Regions from separate parts of the Homo sapiens genome. Here all the other regions are linked to region 3. Evidence: promoter capture Hi-C in 16 types of primary human blood cells and fetal thymus (Javierre and others, 2016). All regions are on one chromosome and are shown on one strand. The core of a region is centred on a gene start or on the middle of the fragment in contact, and the rest is flanking DNA. Distances in the headings are between cores, read along the strand shown. Region 1 has its middle 26 kb from the start of FABP7. Region 2 overlaps PKIB (cAMP-dependent protein kinase inhibitor beta). Region 3 holds the start of HSF2 (heat shock transcription factor 2).

The links. Contacts are between HindIII fragments. The CHiCAGO score rates a contact against its expected background, and 5 or more counts as called.
Region 1: a fragment that was not itself captured here is called in contact with the fragment with the promoter of HSF2 in region 3 in 1 of 17 cell types (monocytes); the score reaches 6.4 in monocytes.
Region 2: a fragment that was not itself captured here is called in contact with the fragment with the promoter of HSF2 in region 3 in 1 of 17 cell types (monocytes); the score reaches 6.9 in monocytes.

The regions. Positions count from the first base shown.
Region 1 is chr6:122,752,163-122,756,051 of GRCh38, reverse strand. It overlaps a transcript of FABP7 not described here. Among named protein-coding and RNA genes, the nearest start is that of FABP7, 26 kb to the left of the region's middle. RefSeq lists an enhancer at 1-344. The HindIII fragment of the contact is 4,567 bases long and covers 1-3,889 here.
Region 2 is chr6:122,715,877-122,719,573 of GRCh38, reverse strand. PKIB (cAMP-dependent protein kinase inhibitor beta) reads right to left here. Exons shown (of 5, transcript NM_181795.3): 4 at 1,611-1,787. The coding sequence starts at 1,779. Among named protein-coding and RNA genes, the nearest start is that of FABP7, 62 kb to the left of the region's middle. The HindIII fragment of the contact is 1,051 bases long and covers 1,230-2,280 here.
Region 3 is chr6:122,397,449-122,401,385 of GRCh38, reverse strand. It overlaps HSF2 (heat shock transcription factor 2), which reads right to left and starts at 1,734. Exons shown (of 13, transcript NM_004506.4): 1 at 1,556-1,734. The coding sequence starts at 1,648. RefSeq lists silencers at 1,289-1,408, 1,679-1,998 and an enhancer at 939-1,438. The HindIII fragment of the contact is 3,471 bases long and covers 1-3,211 here.

The sequences.
Region 1 (3,889 bases), core at 843-3,342, 350 kb before region 3:
CGGAGGAGGGGCGGCCATGTTAATTACCCACAAGTGTGTTGACTCAAAGCCTTTGTCATTAAATCTGTACTGTATAAACGCCCGCAGCACTGGCTTGTTGGGACTGCAGCCGCTGTGACTCTTTACAGCATCCTCCTTGATGTCTTTAAGTGGCCTGGTCCCCTAACCCACTCTTTCAATGGATACCTGTGTCTGTGTGAATTTTTTCATCTGTCGTTTGGCTGGGGTCTGCTGGTCAGACCCAGCACCTCATAGAAATTGGGAAGGTATTCATTCAAGAAACATACTGGGAGGAGGCCACGCGCGGTGGCTCATGCTTGTAATCCCAGCACTTTGGGAGGCTGAGGCGGGCAGATCACAAGGTCAGGAGATCAAGGCCATCCTGGATAACACGGTGAAACTCCATATCTACTAAAAATTAAAAAAAAAAATTAGCCGGGCGTGGTGGCAGGCGCCTGTAGTCCCAGCTACTCGGGAGGCTGAGGCAGGAGAATGGCGTGAACCCGGGAGGCAGAGCTTGCAGTGAGCCGAGATTGCACCACTCCAGCCTGGGCTACAGAGCGAGACTCCGTCTCAAAAAAAAAAAAAAAAATACAAAACATATTGGGAGGAGTAGAAAATGTTGAATTCTCACTTAAGAATCAAGGTTATAAGTAAAAATTCACACTTTATAATATATTTTATAATATAATAGTTCATACTATATTATAATGAGATGTAACGTAAATGTAAATTAATAATAAAAAGAAGTACATGTTTTTTAGTGTTCAAATGCAGCCCAGAGTAGGAAGAGAGATGAATTTTGCTAGGGTTGAGTTTCACTTGGTGAGGACAATGGAGAGAGAAAGGGTCAAGTGACTTTATGATATATGCAAGGAAGTACAGCAATAGATCATGGCATATAAGCCAAGTATTGGCAAGGTGAGTAAGTGAGAGAGAGAGGACACAGGGAAGAAATGGTAGAGTAAATTGATTAGAAATCCCTGGTGTTAAAGCCTTTTGGAGTAGCACTATTGGAAGTAGTGAACTGGAAAAAAAAAAAAGTGATTGTTAGAGAATGAGAATCTGGGAGTGGTACAGTTAGTGGTGATGTCAATACCTGGGAAATAACCAGTAGAAAGGTTGGTGAGTTTAGGTGGAGAACATTGTAATTGAAAGGGACACCAGGGAACTGCAAGTCCTGGGAGTTGGATAGATCTTCTGTGTGGGTGCGAGGGCTATGAAAATGATGCTGAGTTTAAGAGATAGGTGGTGAGCCAGGTAATTCAATTTTCATGAAATCAAGAGGTATGAGGGGAAGTTCTTAGGCTAACAAGTGGGGACGGAAAAGAGGATAGTCTTAGCACATGTACTTCAAAGGAGGCTACACAGAGACAGAAGGAAACAATGATCTGAATGAATTGGACAAAACACCCATTGTTACCACTGAAAAGTGGGTGGGGGGTGGGGGGATGGGGAGCATGGGAGGAAGGAGTTTTAAAGCGAATGTTTTTCAGTTTAAGAAGCCTGAACCTTTGACAAAAGTTGAGATCTTGAAGGTCTTGGGGCAAATGAAGAAAAGGTGGATCATTTCAGAAAAGTCGTCCAGAAGTTGGAAGCGTCTGAGAGCTGCAGCACAGTGGAGGACTTGCCTCAGGCATGGAGACATTTCTTCCATTGAAATAGGGAGGAGGAAGGCAGAGCACGTGGACACTGAAGCAGGAAGCTGGTGGTTTGGTGGAAGAAGATGAGGAAATATTTGTTTAATTTTCTCTATGAAATATAACACATTCATCAACTGAAGACCATCCTTAAGTGAACTGAGCTTATCTAGGATTGAAAAAGATTAGGCAGAAACCACTTTGTGGAACTCCTATTTAAAACTAAGTTTAAATTTAGAAAAATAAAATTATATTTCTTATACAGCTAAGTGTTGTGAGCTGATAATGGTACCTGAGGCAGGAGAATAGGGTCTGAAGGCAGGGAACCTAAGGCTGTTTCATGCTGACTTCCTATAACTAAATTGAAAGGAAAACCCTAACTTTCCATGCCTAAGTAATAAAAGGACCAGAGGCTTCTCCCTTTGACCTTTTCTGCGTGGCAGATGGAAGACTGGCAACAAATTATCCTGAGTGCCCGTCTGGTCTTTGTTTGCAACTTTGTAACTTCACTCCAGCCTCTGAATGGTAGCTGTCTGCAACCAATCAGACTGATTGCCAGCTACCACTTCAGTTACATGAGGTGAGCATGAAGTGGCCAATGGAAAACTTCTGTGGGCGGGGGGGGGGCGGGATTTGGACCCAAGAAGATTCTGTATCCAGGCCCTTAAGCTGCTGCTCGAGTCCACTTCCACACTGTGGAGTGTACTTTCATTTTCAATAAATCCCTGCTTTCGTTCTTTTGTTGCTTCATTCCTTCGTTTTGCTGGGCGTTTTATCCAATTCTTTGTTCAAAATGCCAAGAACCTGGACAACCTGCAGTCATGACCCTCTATCGGTGACAGTACCCACTGTGTGTAGGAGCTCATCCATGACAAATATGTGCACCACAGCAAGTCATCTTGAGGTGACAGATGGGCGAGAACTTGGGGAGGAGGCAGACTCCAAGGTCAATACGGTTCTAGATAAACCAGTAGACAGTGATGAGACTGAGTGTGAGCGAATTACTGAATGCTTTCAATTTTCTGAGTAGATGCACAGAAGTCTATGTAAAGAAAGAAACAAGAGGCAGCAGAGCCTTGTAAATTGCCAAGATTCAATTTGCTAAATCAGTGGAGAACACTTAGGGAGGGGTGAAAATTATCTTTAGAGCCCATTCTTGAAGTTCTGAATTTCCGAAACAGATATCTACAAAGGCACAGCAATACAGATAGCCCAAGTTACCCTGCAGGGCTGCCAGAAAGCAGTGGCCTGGGCACCTGCTGGGAGACAGATCTTGTTTTTGAAGAGGAATTGGAATTTCATTATAAAGCCAGAGAGAAACGGTTAGTCTCGCAGACAGAATTTTTTTCAGAGAGCTGCTAAGCATTTTGTCTAGAGTAAGCATCTTTCTTTTGCTTTGCCTTTATGAAAATGGCATTTTGTCTTTAGCTGGGACTCTTAAAGAAACCACAGCAAAAAACAATGGAAACAACACAGGCTTAGTTAGTGGACTCAACAAACCAGAGAGAGACCACTAACCCTATGCAAGCCTCAGCTTGACTAATAACTTTCTTGAACTAAGCAGGTGATGGCAAAAGACTAGGCAATAACAATGTAGAGGGGGTAGAGATGGCTAAAATTTTGGGTTGGGAAACAGACTACACTGTCTGTAAACTCTAAATAGAGCCACAAGGCTTACTTCGCTGGAGACTATCCAAATTCACCCATGGTGTCCTGGCATAATTATTAAGTGTCCCCTTTCACTTTCAGAAGTGTACTAGCTTAGACAAAGGTCCAAGAGATTCTATCTATAGAAAAACCAACTCTTCACCCCTTATGCAAGAAGTTTCCTCAGAGCTTATTCATAAAGGAGAAATTCAGCCAGCATCATGCCAATATCTCCAGGAGGGTAAGGTTGGGGGTGGGAATGGCTTAGGCCAACATTTAGAGGAAAGAAATCCCCTATATATAAAATGTTGACAATTCTAGCCAAAGAGATTGCAGATGTAACCCACTATTTAGGTTTAACCCTGCAGAGGGGTTAGGAAATATTACCCATAGAACCACAGAGTGCATGCATGCATGATTGAGGGACTTACTATTTTTGTGAAATAGATTCTGTACAGAAAACTAATTCTCACCCTTTTAAAGATTGCAGGCAAGGATGAACACATCTAAATGAGAAGTCAATTTTCTTCCTCAGAACACAGAGTTACTAGAACAAAATAACATTTTGAAATATAAATCATTGATTTTTTTATATTTGCTCC
Region 2 (3,697 bases), core at 506-3,005, 320 kb before region 3:
CCATCATTTTCCTAATTTTCCTGGTAGCTACCATTCTACTCTCTGATTCTAGCAGTTTGTCTCTTTCAGATTCCATGAATAAGATCATGTGGTATTTACCTTTCTGTGCCTGGCATATTTCACTTTACAACTTGCCTTCACCCTTTTGTGTAATCTTTAGCATCTGGTGTTATTTGTAAATTCATCTTTAACATTTTCAGTTTCTTAATTGATGCCTTTGACTTTATTTCAAAATGATATGAAGAAAAATATAAAAACAGGAACATATTCTTTCAGATCCTAGTCTCTCTAGTGACCAAAATAAAATGGAGAACACTGCTGACTCTCCCACAGTGTATTTGCTCTCTTTTGCTTGATTAAGTAATGTCAGTAAACATTAAGGTTTTGTGTGTGTTGAAGGTGTATAAAATTTAATTACGGTTTTTACACGAACAAGTAATTGCCTTCTCTACCTCACTAGTTTAGAATGGACTCTTGAACAGCAACGACATCTTCCTATGGTCATATTACATTTTCAAACTTAAAAGGCCAAAAACATTACATATATGTTTATTTCTTTCTTCCCTTATCTTTTCCTTCTTTTCATTCTTCTTATAATATTTTACGTTGATGTGTATGCTTTTTTACTCTCACCTATAGTGTTGCATATGAGAAATAGTGGCCTTTGGAAAAAGATGAGGTAATCATGGAACTGCAGGATCTGGTCACAGCTCCTGGCCTACAAGGATATAACTATTTCATAGAGAATGAACCAGGAACATTTGCAACTTTACCAGGTAGTAAATAACCTCCTGAAGCAAAGAACCAAGAGCCTTCTTCTTGGGCTCCCGGGAATGGGTTAGATGCAAGCGGCTTCTGGTTCTCACTTGCTTCATTGTCACCAAGAATAAATTCCCAAACATACACTAGAGTCCACCTGAGAGTCTAAAATGGGGCACAAAACGTGAGTATTTTGCTAATGGCTTGGAACTAAAATGATCTTTAATCTCTCTGAGTGTATTTTTTAACTTTGATTCAGGGTTTTGTTTTGTTTTTTTAAATCTCCATGAGGGTTTTTAAATGAAAGGCACCTTTTAACACTTTATTTAAAGTATCCTTATACTTTCATATAAAGTATCACCTTTTATACAAAAATTCTGTTGAAAGAATCTCATCTCTACTTGATAGTAAACTTCTTCCTAGATTTGAAAATTAAAGGGCTTGTAGCACACTACAGTGAAGCAGAAGCTTCCAAAGTGATTTGTCAATGGATGGCAGAAGAAAAATTATTTTATTTATGAATACTTCTTAATAAACTTGAAAGCTCATTGAGAGAAAGATCATATTTGTTCACCTTTGTATTCCCAATTACTAGCTTTGTGCATGACTATACACATGCAATGAATAAATAAAACTTCAGTTTCCACATACACAGCATAAGAAAAAAGATGAAATATTCTACTTTGGAAAAGGCTGAACATCTACTAAGCCTTAAACAAAAGCTGAGAGGTTTAAGTAAACAAATAAGGAAACTGAGCACTTTTAACTAGATAAAAGAAAGACTGTCCAGAGAAAAGGCTTGGTTAAGAAGGGACAAGTGCTGTTAATTGTAAGAGGATTTTGAGTATTACCTTCCTTCACGGAGAGAGCCTCCAGTTTGAGGGGCAAATCTGAGGTTCCGTCTGTGGCAGCTGAACTCTGGATGTCTGGTAAGGCATTCCGGCGGCCTGCCCTTGCTGAAGATGCAAAATTGGCGACCCCAGACTCCACGTCAGTCATTTTTGATGAATCTGTCCTCATAGCAACATCTACAAATAGAATGTGCATATGAAGAAGATGAGCCTATTCAGAAGTAAATGTTCACCACAGTGGTTGAAAGGCATGGCTAGATCAAAAACACAACAGGCTTGAGAGTCTAATCATTGATCACAACCTTCATCAATGTCTACTGTTACGGTCCTGCAGCATCCATTTGCACATTTGCTGAATAGAGCAGGAAGCCCTCAGTGTGAGCCAGATTGCTAAAAATAACCCCTGAGCCGAATGAGCCACTTGGATGCTTAAGGGTGCAGTAATCCCTTGCCTTTTGTTCTGCTTTTCTGTGGATGGATCAGCCAAACTAGGGCTTGGAAGGAAATGAAAACTGACTTTTTTGACCACTCCTGTAGAGACTCTTTCTGCCAGTATTTGCTTGTGGTGATTGTTCAGGCTGAAACCAAATAACTATAATTTGTAGAGACCAAACAAAACACTCTTTTCCTACTTCTTAGAAATAAGAAATTCCACTTTATCTCAAAAGCTTTTTCCCTAGAGAGCACTAAATATTTTGATCTGTTCTGGTCTGAGACCTAATTTTCGATAGACTCATGGTAATGGTTGAAGAGTAGGACCTATTTTAGGTTTTTTTACCTTCAGGTTGACATGGTAATTACTAGTTCTTTCCTAAGCACCCTTTATCTCCCTAGCAATTGTCTCTCTCTAAGAAAGAATTCTCAAGAGATCATTCACTATAAAGGGAGGAAGGTAACAGTTATTGCTTACTCTAAAACTGACCTTTTTATTATGTTTTGGAATGAATCTCTCCTGAGAAGTCAACTCTGAATAGCATCTCGAAAGCAGAAGCATTGTATTGAAAAGCTATGTAATGCTAGCCTCTCAGCTAGGCCTGAGAGTACAGACGTATGGTATACTTTCCATCTTTAGGGAACTTGCACTCTCAAAAGGGAGAGAAAATATATGCCTGCAGAGATAGACACCCTAACACAGAATGCACTAAGTATTGACCGAAGGATGGAGATGCTCATTTGTGATACCTAAAAAGGGCAGAAATATGTAAACCTTGGGCTACACAGAACAAATCCAACTTTTCATGGTAGTTGGAGGGAGTAACTTCAATTCAGGAAATGCTAAACACTAAATGGCATAGTCACAAAACATGGTGCATTTGACATTAGAAACAATATTTTTGGTTCATAGAATGCAAGAAATGCAAATTGAGCTTAGCATGGTCCTTAGGAGTCCAGGAATAGTTTGGAATTGCCCAAAAAAGAGTCATTCTATTAATTCCATAGATATTATTGTCTTTCCAGGAATCATGGGAAATTTGAGAACAGAGCTATGTTTTGAGATACAATTTTGGAATCCATTAGACTTTTAACTGCTTGGTATTTGGCAACTGTGGAGAATGTATAGATATCTTAGAGTACTGTAAAGAGCACTAGACTATTGGTCAAAAAGAATGTGCTCCATTATAGACTTGGAAGGTGATATTGTTCAATCCATTTAATTTCTCTGAGTCACAGTTCCTCCCCTATATAACGGGCATAGCAATTAGCCTATGGATTCACAGGATGCTGGTGAAGCAATAATGAGATAAAGAATAAATGAACTCTTTGTAACTATAAGGTATATGTCTGATTGTTGGCATCATTGTTCATATCTCACTAAATGTTCTTTATTCTACCACCTTCTTGTGTATCCCATTTAATCCTAACAAAAAGTATTTTCCTATTGGGAAGACCTCTTGCATTTTCCAAGAGGAAAACCAGCATTTTTATTCAATACTACATGAACATTTTTATATTACATTAGTTAAACCTCCCAATAATCCCATGAGGTACTGAAGTATGACCCTTGCTTTGTGGATGTGGAAACTGGGGGGTCAGAGAGGTTAAGCGACTCATTTAAAGTTGCACAGCTGCTAAGTCAGCACTCAGGC
Region 3 (3,937 bases), core at 485-2,984:
TTTCGTGGGGAGAGAATCTCAGTCCAATCTCTAACACGAATACGTGTCTGAGTAACAGTCTGTACTGATCCTTCTTGTCAACTTTTAATCCTTCTAACTGATGAAAAGCATGAGACATGTGTTTATTTTAAGTACATGCTAGTGGCTGGCTTTCTTATTTTCACCTAGCTTTGTACAATTGTACAGAATTCATTAAATGCTTAATAGAAACACTCACGCCCCCCTACTCAACTCCAAGCAGGGAGTGGGGCTAAAAGGATAACTCAGTTGCTCATAAAGAACACACAAAAATTAAATCCTAGAAGGAAGTCGGAAAAAAGAACAAATAATAACACAAGGCAAACTATGGTATTACAGAAGTCAAAACTTCAGGGTCTTAATATGGTGCTCACTCCCTGTTAAGACAAAAGTAAATAAAACTAAGAGTTCCTATAATAGGAGAACAGGAAAGAAAGGAGGACGGGAGATAACATTTACTCAGCACTTAACAGGTGCCAGGCACTATGCAGGTAGTTTTCACTTATTCTTCTCAAGAACTACACATATGAAAATATGCCTCAATAGGTGATCATCTACAATAAGAGTTAACCACTTTCCTTCATAAAAATGATTCCAACAGCCTAGGAGTGTATTCTAATGCACATGCACTGTGGATGTAAATAATCATTCTGCCTAAAATCTTGTATTTGGGACTGATATAGGTCTTGGGTCACCTAGGCAACCCATCCATCTTATGAAAGATTTAACTTAGGCCAGACAAGATAAAGGGCTGGACTAAGGTCATGCTTGTTTAGAAGCAGAGTTGAGATCAAACCAATAATCAACACATCGATATGCCCCTCTGCTGGTAACTGTTCAGCGAAATTTAGTAACTACTAAGTTACCACCTATTAGTACTTTATTAAAACAATCCTAATAATCCCATTATACAAATAGCACAGAATCTCAAAAGAATAATTTGTTAATTTCTATATATTTTTAAAACCAACTGATAAGCAGTAACCTGCGTTTGAACGTATGTCTATTGCCCTGACTGCTCTCCACATAAAGATGCCAGATGCAAAGCAATGTTGGGGGAACTGGGGGTGATCGGTCGCTGAGGTAAAGATCGCCTCCTATAAAGCCCCACGTTGATGATCCTGGCCCTGGGCTCCCTGTCCCCTCCGCGATTTGTAACCCCTGAGCCGGGCGGGAGGACGGAGGATGAGTGTGCAGTAAAGAGGCTCCCGCGCCCTCGGCTCGCCGATTCCCCTCGCGACGCCGGGCCGGTTCCGAACGCGGACCGGACCGTTAAGGGGCTGCCTGGGCCGCTACGCCCCGCGCGGGCCGCCCCTCCCCCACCGCGGCCTGAGGAGAGCGGCGCTGCCGGCCGGGCCCCCGCGGCTCCCCGAGCGAACAATACAGGGGGTCCCCCGCGAGGCTGAACGCCAAGGCCCCGCACCGCGGGCCTCGCAGACAGCGTCGAGCCGCAAGGCCGCGAGAGACCACCCCGCAGGAGAGCGAGTGAGGAGGCGGTTATTCAGGGGGTTCAGAGGCCGCCGTGGCCTGACCGTACCTGGCTCCAGGTGATGAACTCGTTAGTGTGGGTTTCCTCCACAAGCGTCCACAGCTTGCTGAGGAAAGCCGGCACGTTCGAACTCTGCTTCATTGTTAACGCGGCGCAGGGATTCCAAATTCTACACCCGAACGCGGTGGTAGCGGCGGCGGCAGCTACGGCAGCAGCTCCCCGAGAACGCCCACAACGCAGGCGCAGCAGATCTTGGTCCCCGCCCCCCCAACCCCGCCAGGCGCGCGGCAAGGCCGAGAGGCCGGGCGGCCGCACGTGACGGACAAGTCTCCGCGCTCCGCCTGTGCGCGCAGTGGTTCCGCGCCTGTCCCGTCCCTGGCCAATCCCAGGAGCCGACTGCACGACAGAGAAAAGCGATTGGCTGCTGCTGACATGAAGGGGGTGGGAGCAGAAGGGGGTGGGAGCAGAAGGGGGCGCTGCCTCCTCATTTGCCTTTTATACAGAAGCCTTGATGGTAGCAGACTTAGGCTTGGGAGACCGTGTTTGGATGTTTCACGTGGAAACAGCTTATGGTTTCTGGGCTGTGGCTGGGAGGCTACAGAAACCCTTCAGGGCCTTTGAGTCATAAGTTTGGCAGGCAAAGTGTGGTTTGCACCAGTTTAGAGAAAGGATCCATTTGCATAAGGAAAAAACCAGCTCTCAAGCATGATGTGCTAGGCCCCAAATTGAAATTGTCTTAAAAATAATGAAACTTGTTCTTACATTTTCATTGGGAGAAAAAGCCCTCTTTAAAATATGTTTATCAAAAAGAGCAGTTTAAATAACTCACTCTCGATTACTTAAAACTGTAAACCAGGAACTGCAATTGATATATCATGTGCTGTTTTTAATCCAGTCATCAAGTGCCTACTCTGTACCCAGAATAAAAAGAAATAGACTCATTTGTACTATTTTAGTTAATTAAAATAGTTTTTCCTGCGTATACTTTACAGATATAGTCTTTTTTGCCTAAGAGATTGGTATAGTGGAAAAAACAATGGAAAAGGAGTCAGTAGATCTCAGTTTAGATAAAGCCTCTTGGACATTTTTCTGTATATTAAAATACACTGGTTCTGTCATTTAGAACAATTCCTTAGCCACCAGTGCCAGTTTTTTCCATTTCTTGACTGGGAATAAGATCTATCTTTTTACCCACTAAGAGTGTCTTTAATACTATAATGGCTGTGCAAATGCTTTGAAAATATGAAGTCTACAAAATTCGACTTTTTTTTTTTACAAAAGTCAGCATGTGAAGGCAAAAACTTACAAACAAGTCAGAGATAACATACAAAACTTCAACATAGGATTGGTTTACTTCTTGGGTGAATGTAAAATAGTACATTAAATATATATCTATCATTTAATGGAAGATATATGTATATCTCTTCCAATGAGCAAGTATTTAGTGAATGCTGCCTTTGTGCTCAGCACTGGGATGTTGGCTGAAGCAAAATCAGATATATGGAGGCATGCATGTGATAGAGGAAGTAATATTTGATGAGCCCTTATATATGCCAAGGGCTTTACATATATTATTGAATCCTCACAACAACCCAATGAACTAGGTTTTATTATCCCATTTTCCCAGAGAAGATTCTGAGACTCAAAAGTTGATTAATTTCTTCAGTCACAGCAAGTAAATGGGAGAGTATTTACACCCAAGCTTTATTGAGCTCAAAAGTATGTGCCCTTTCCATTGTACAATGATGACACTGTTTCAAAGCTCAAGATGCTTATATTCAAACTCAAGAAACAATATGACCACAGTGATCAGCACTCAATATATACAAAAAGAGCTAAATGTTTTGTATAAAATAAGTACTAGATAAGTTTAAAAAGACAGATTAGTAGGTTAAGGTGGTAAGGAAGGATTTCATGGCAGATAGGGACCTTAAGTTGGGTCTTGAGGTACAAATATATTTGAATAGCTAAAAGGAAGACAACAGAATGAGCAAAAACCAGGAAGCTAATGATCATGTCTGTCTATGGAGGGCAACAGCTCAGGAGGTAAGAATGGCAGTGTCTAAGGAGGAAATGTGGCCTACTTTCATGGCATTATATTATTTTCTTCTAAAAAAAGAAGGTGTGATTAGATAGAAGCAGAAACTTGTCTTTGGACATTCAAAGGCTGGGCATTCATAGGGCTGGGCTTAGTGGGGTGCCATACTTAGTTTAATGCTCTGTTCTCATCCTCTTGAAATTCTCAGTTTTTGAACAAGGGACTGTACATTTTCATTTTGCAATGGATCTTGCAAATTGTGTAGCTGATTCTGTTTCCAATGTATGGCATCTTATAGACCGTAAGTTTGAAACAAATGGTTCTCAAACTTAAGCATGCGTCTGAATCACTTGGAGAGGGAAGCCTTCCAGTAAGCAAATGAGCAATATCAC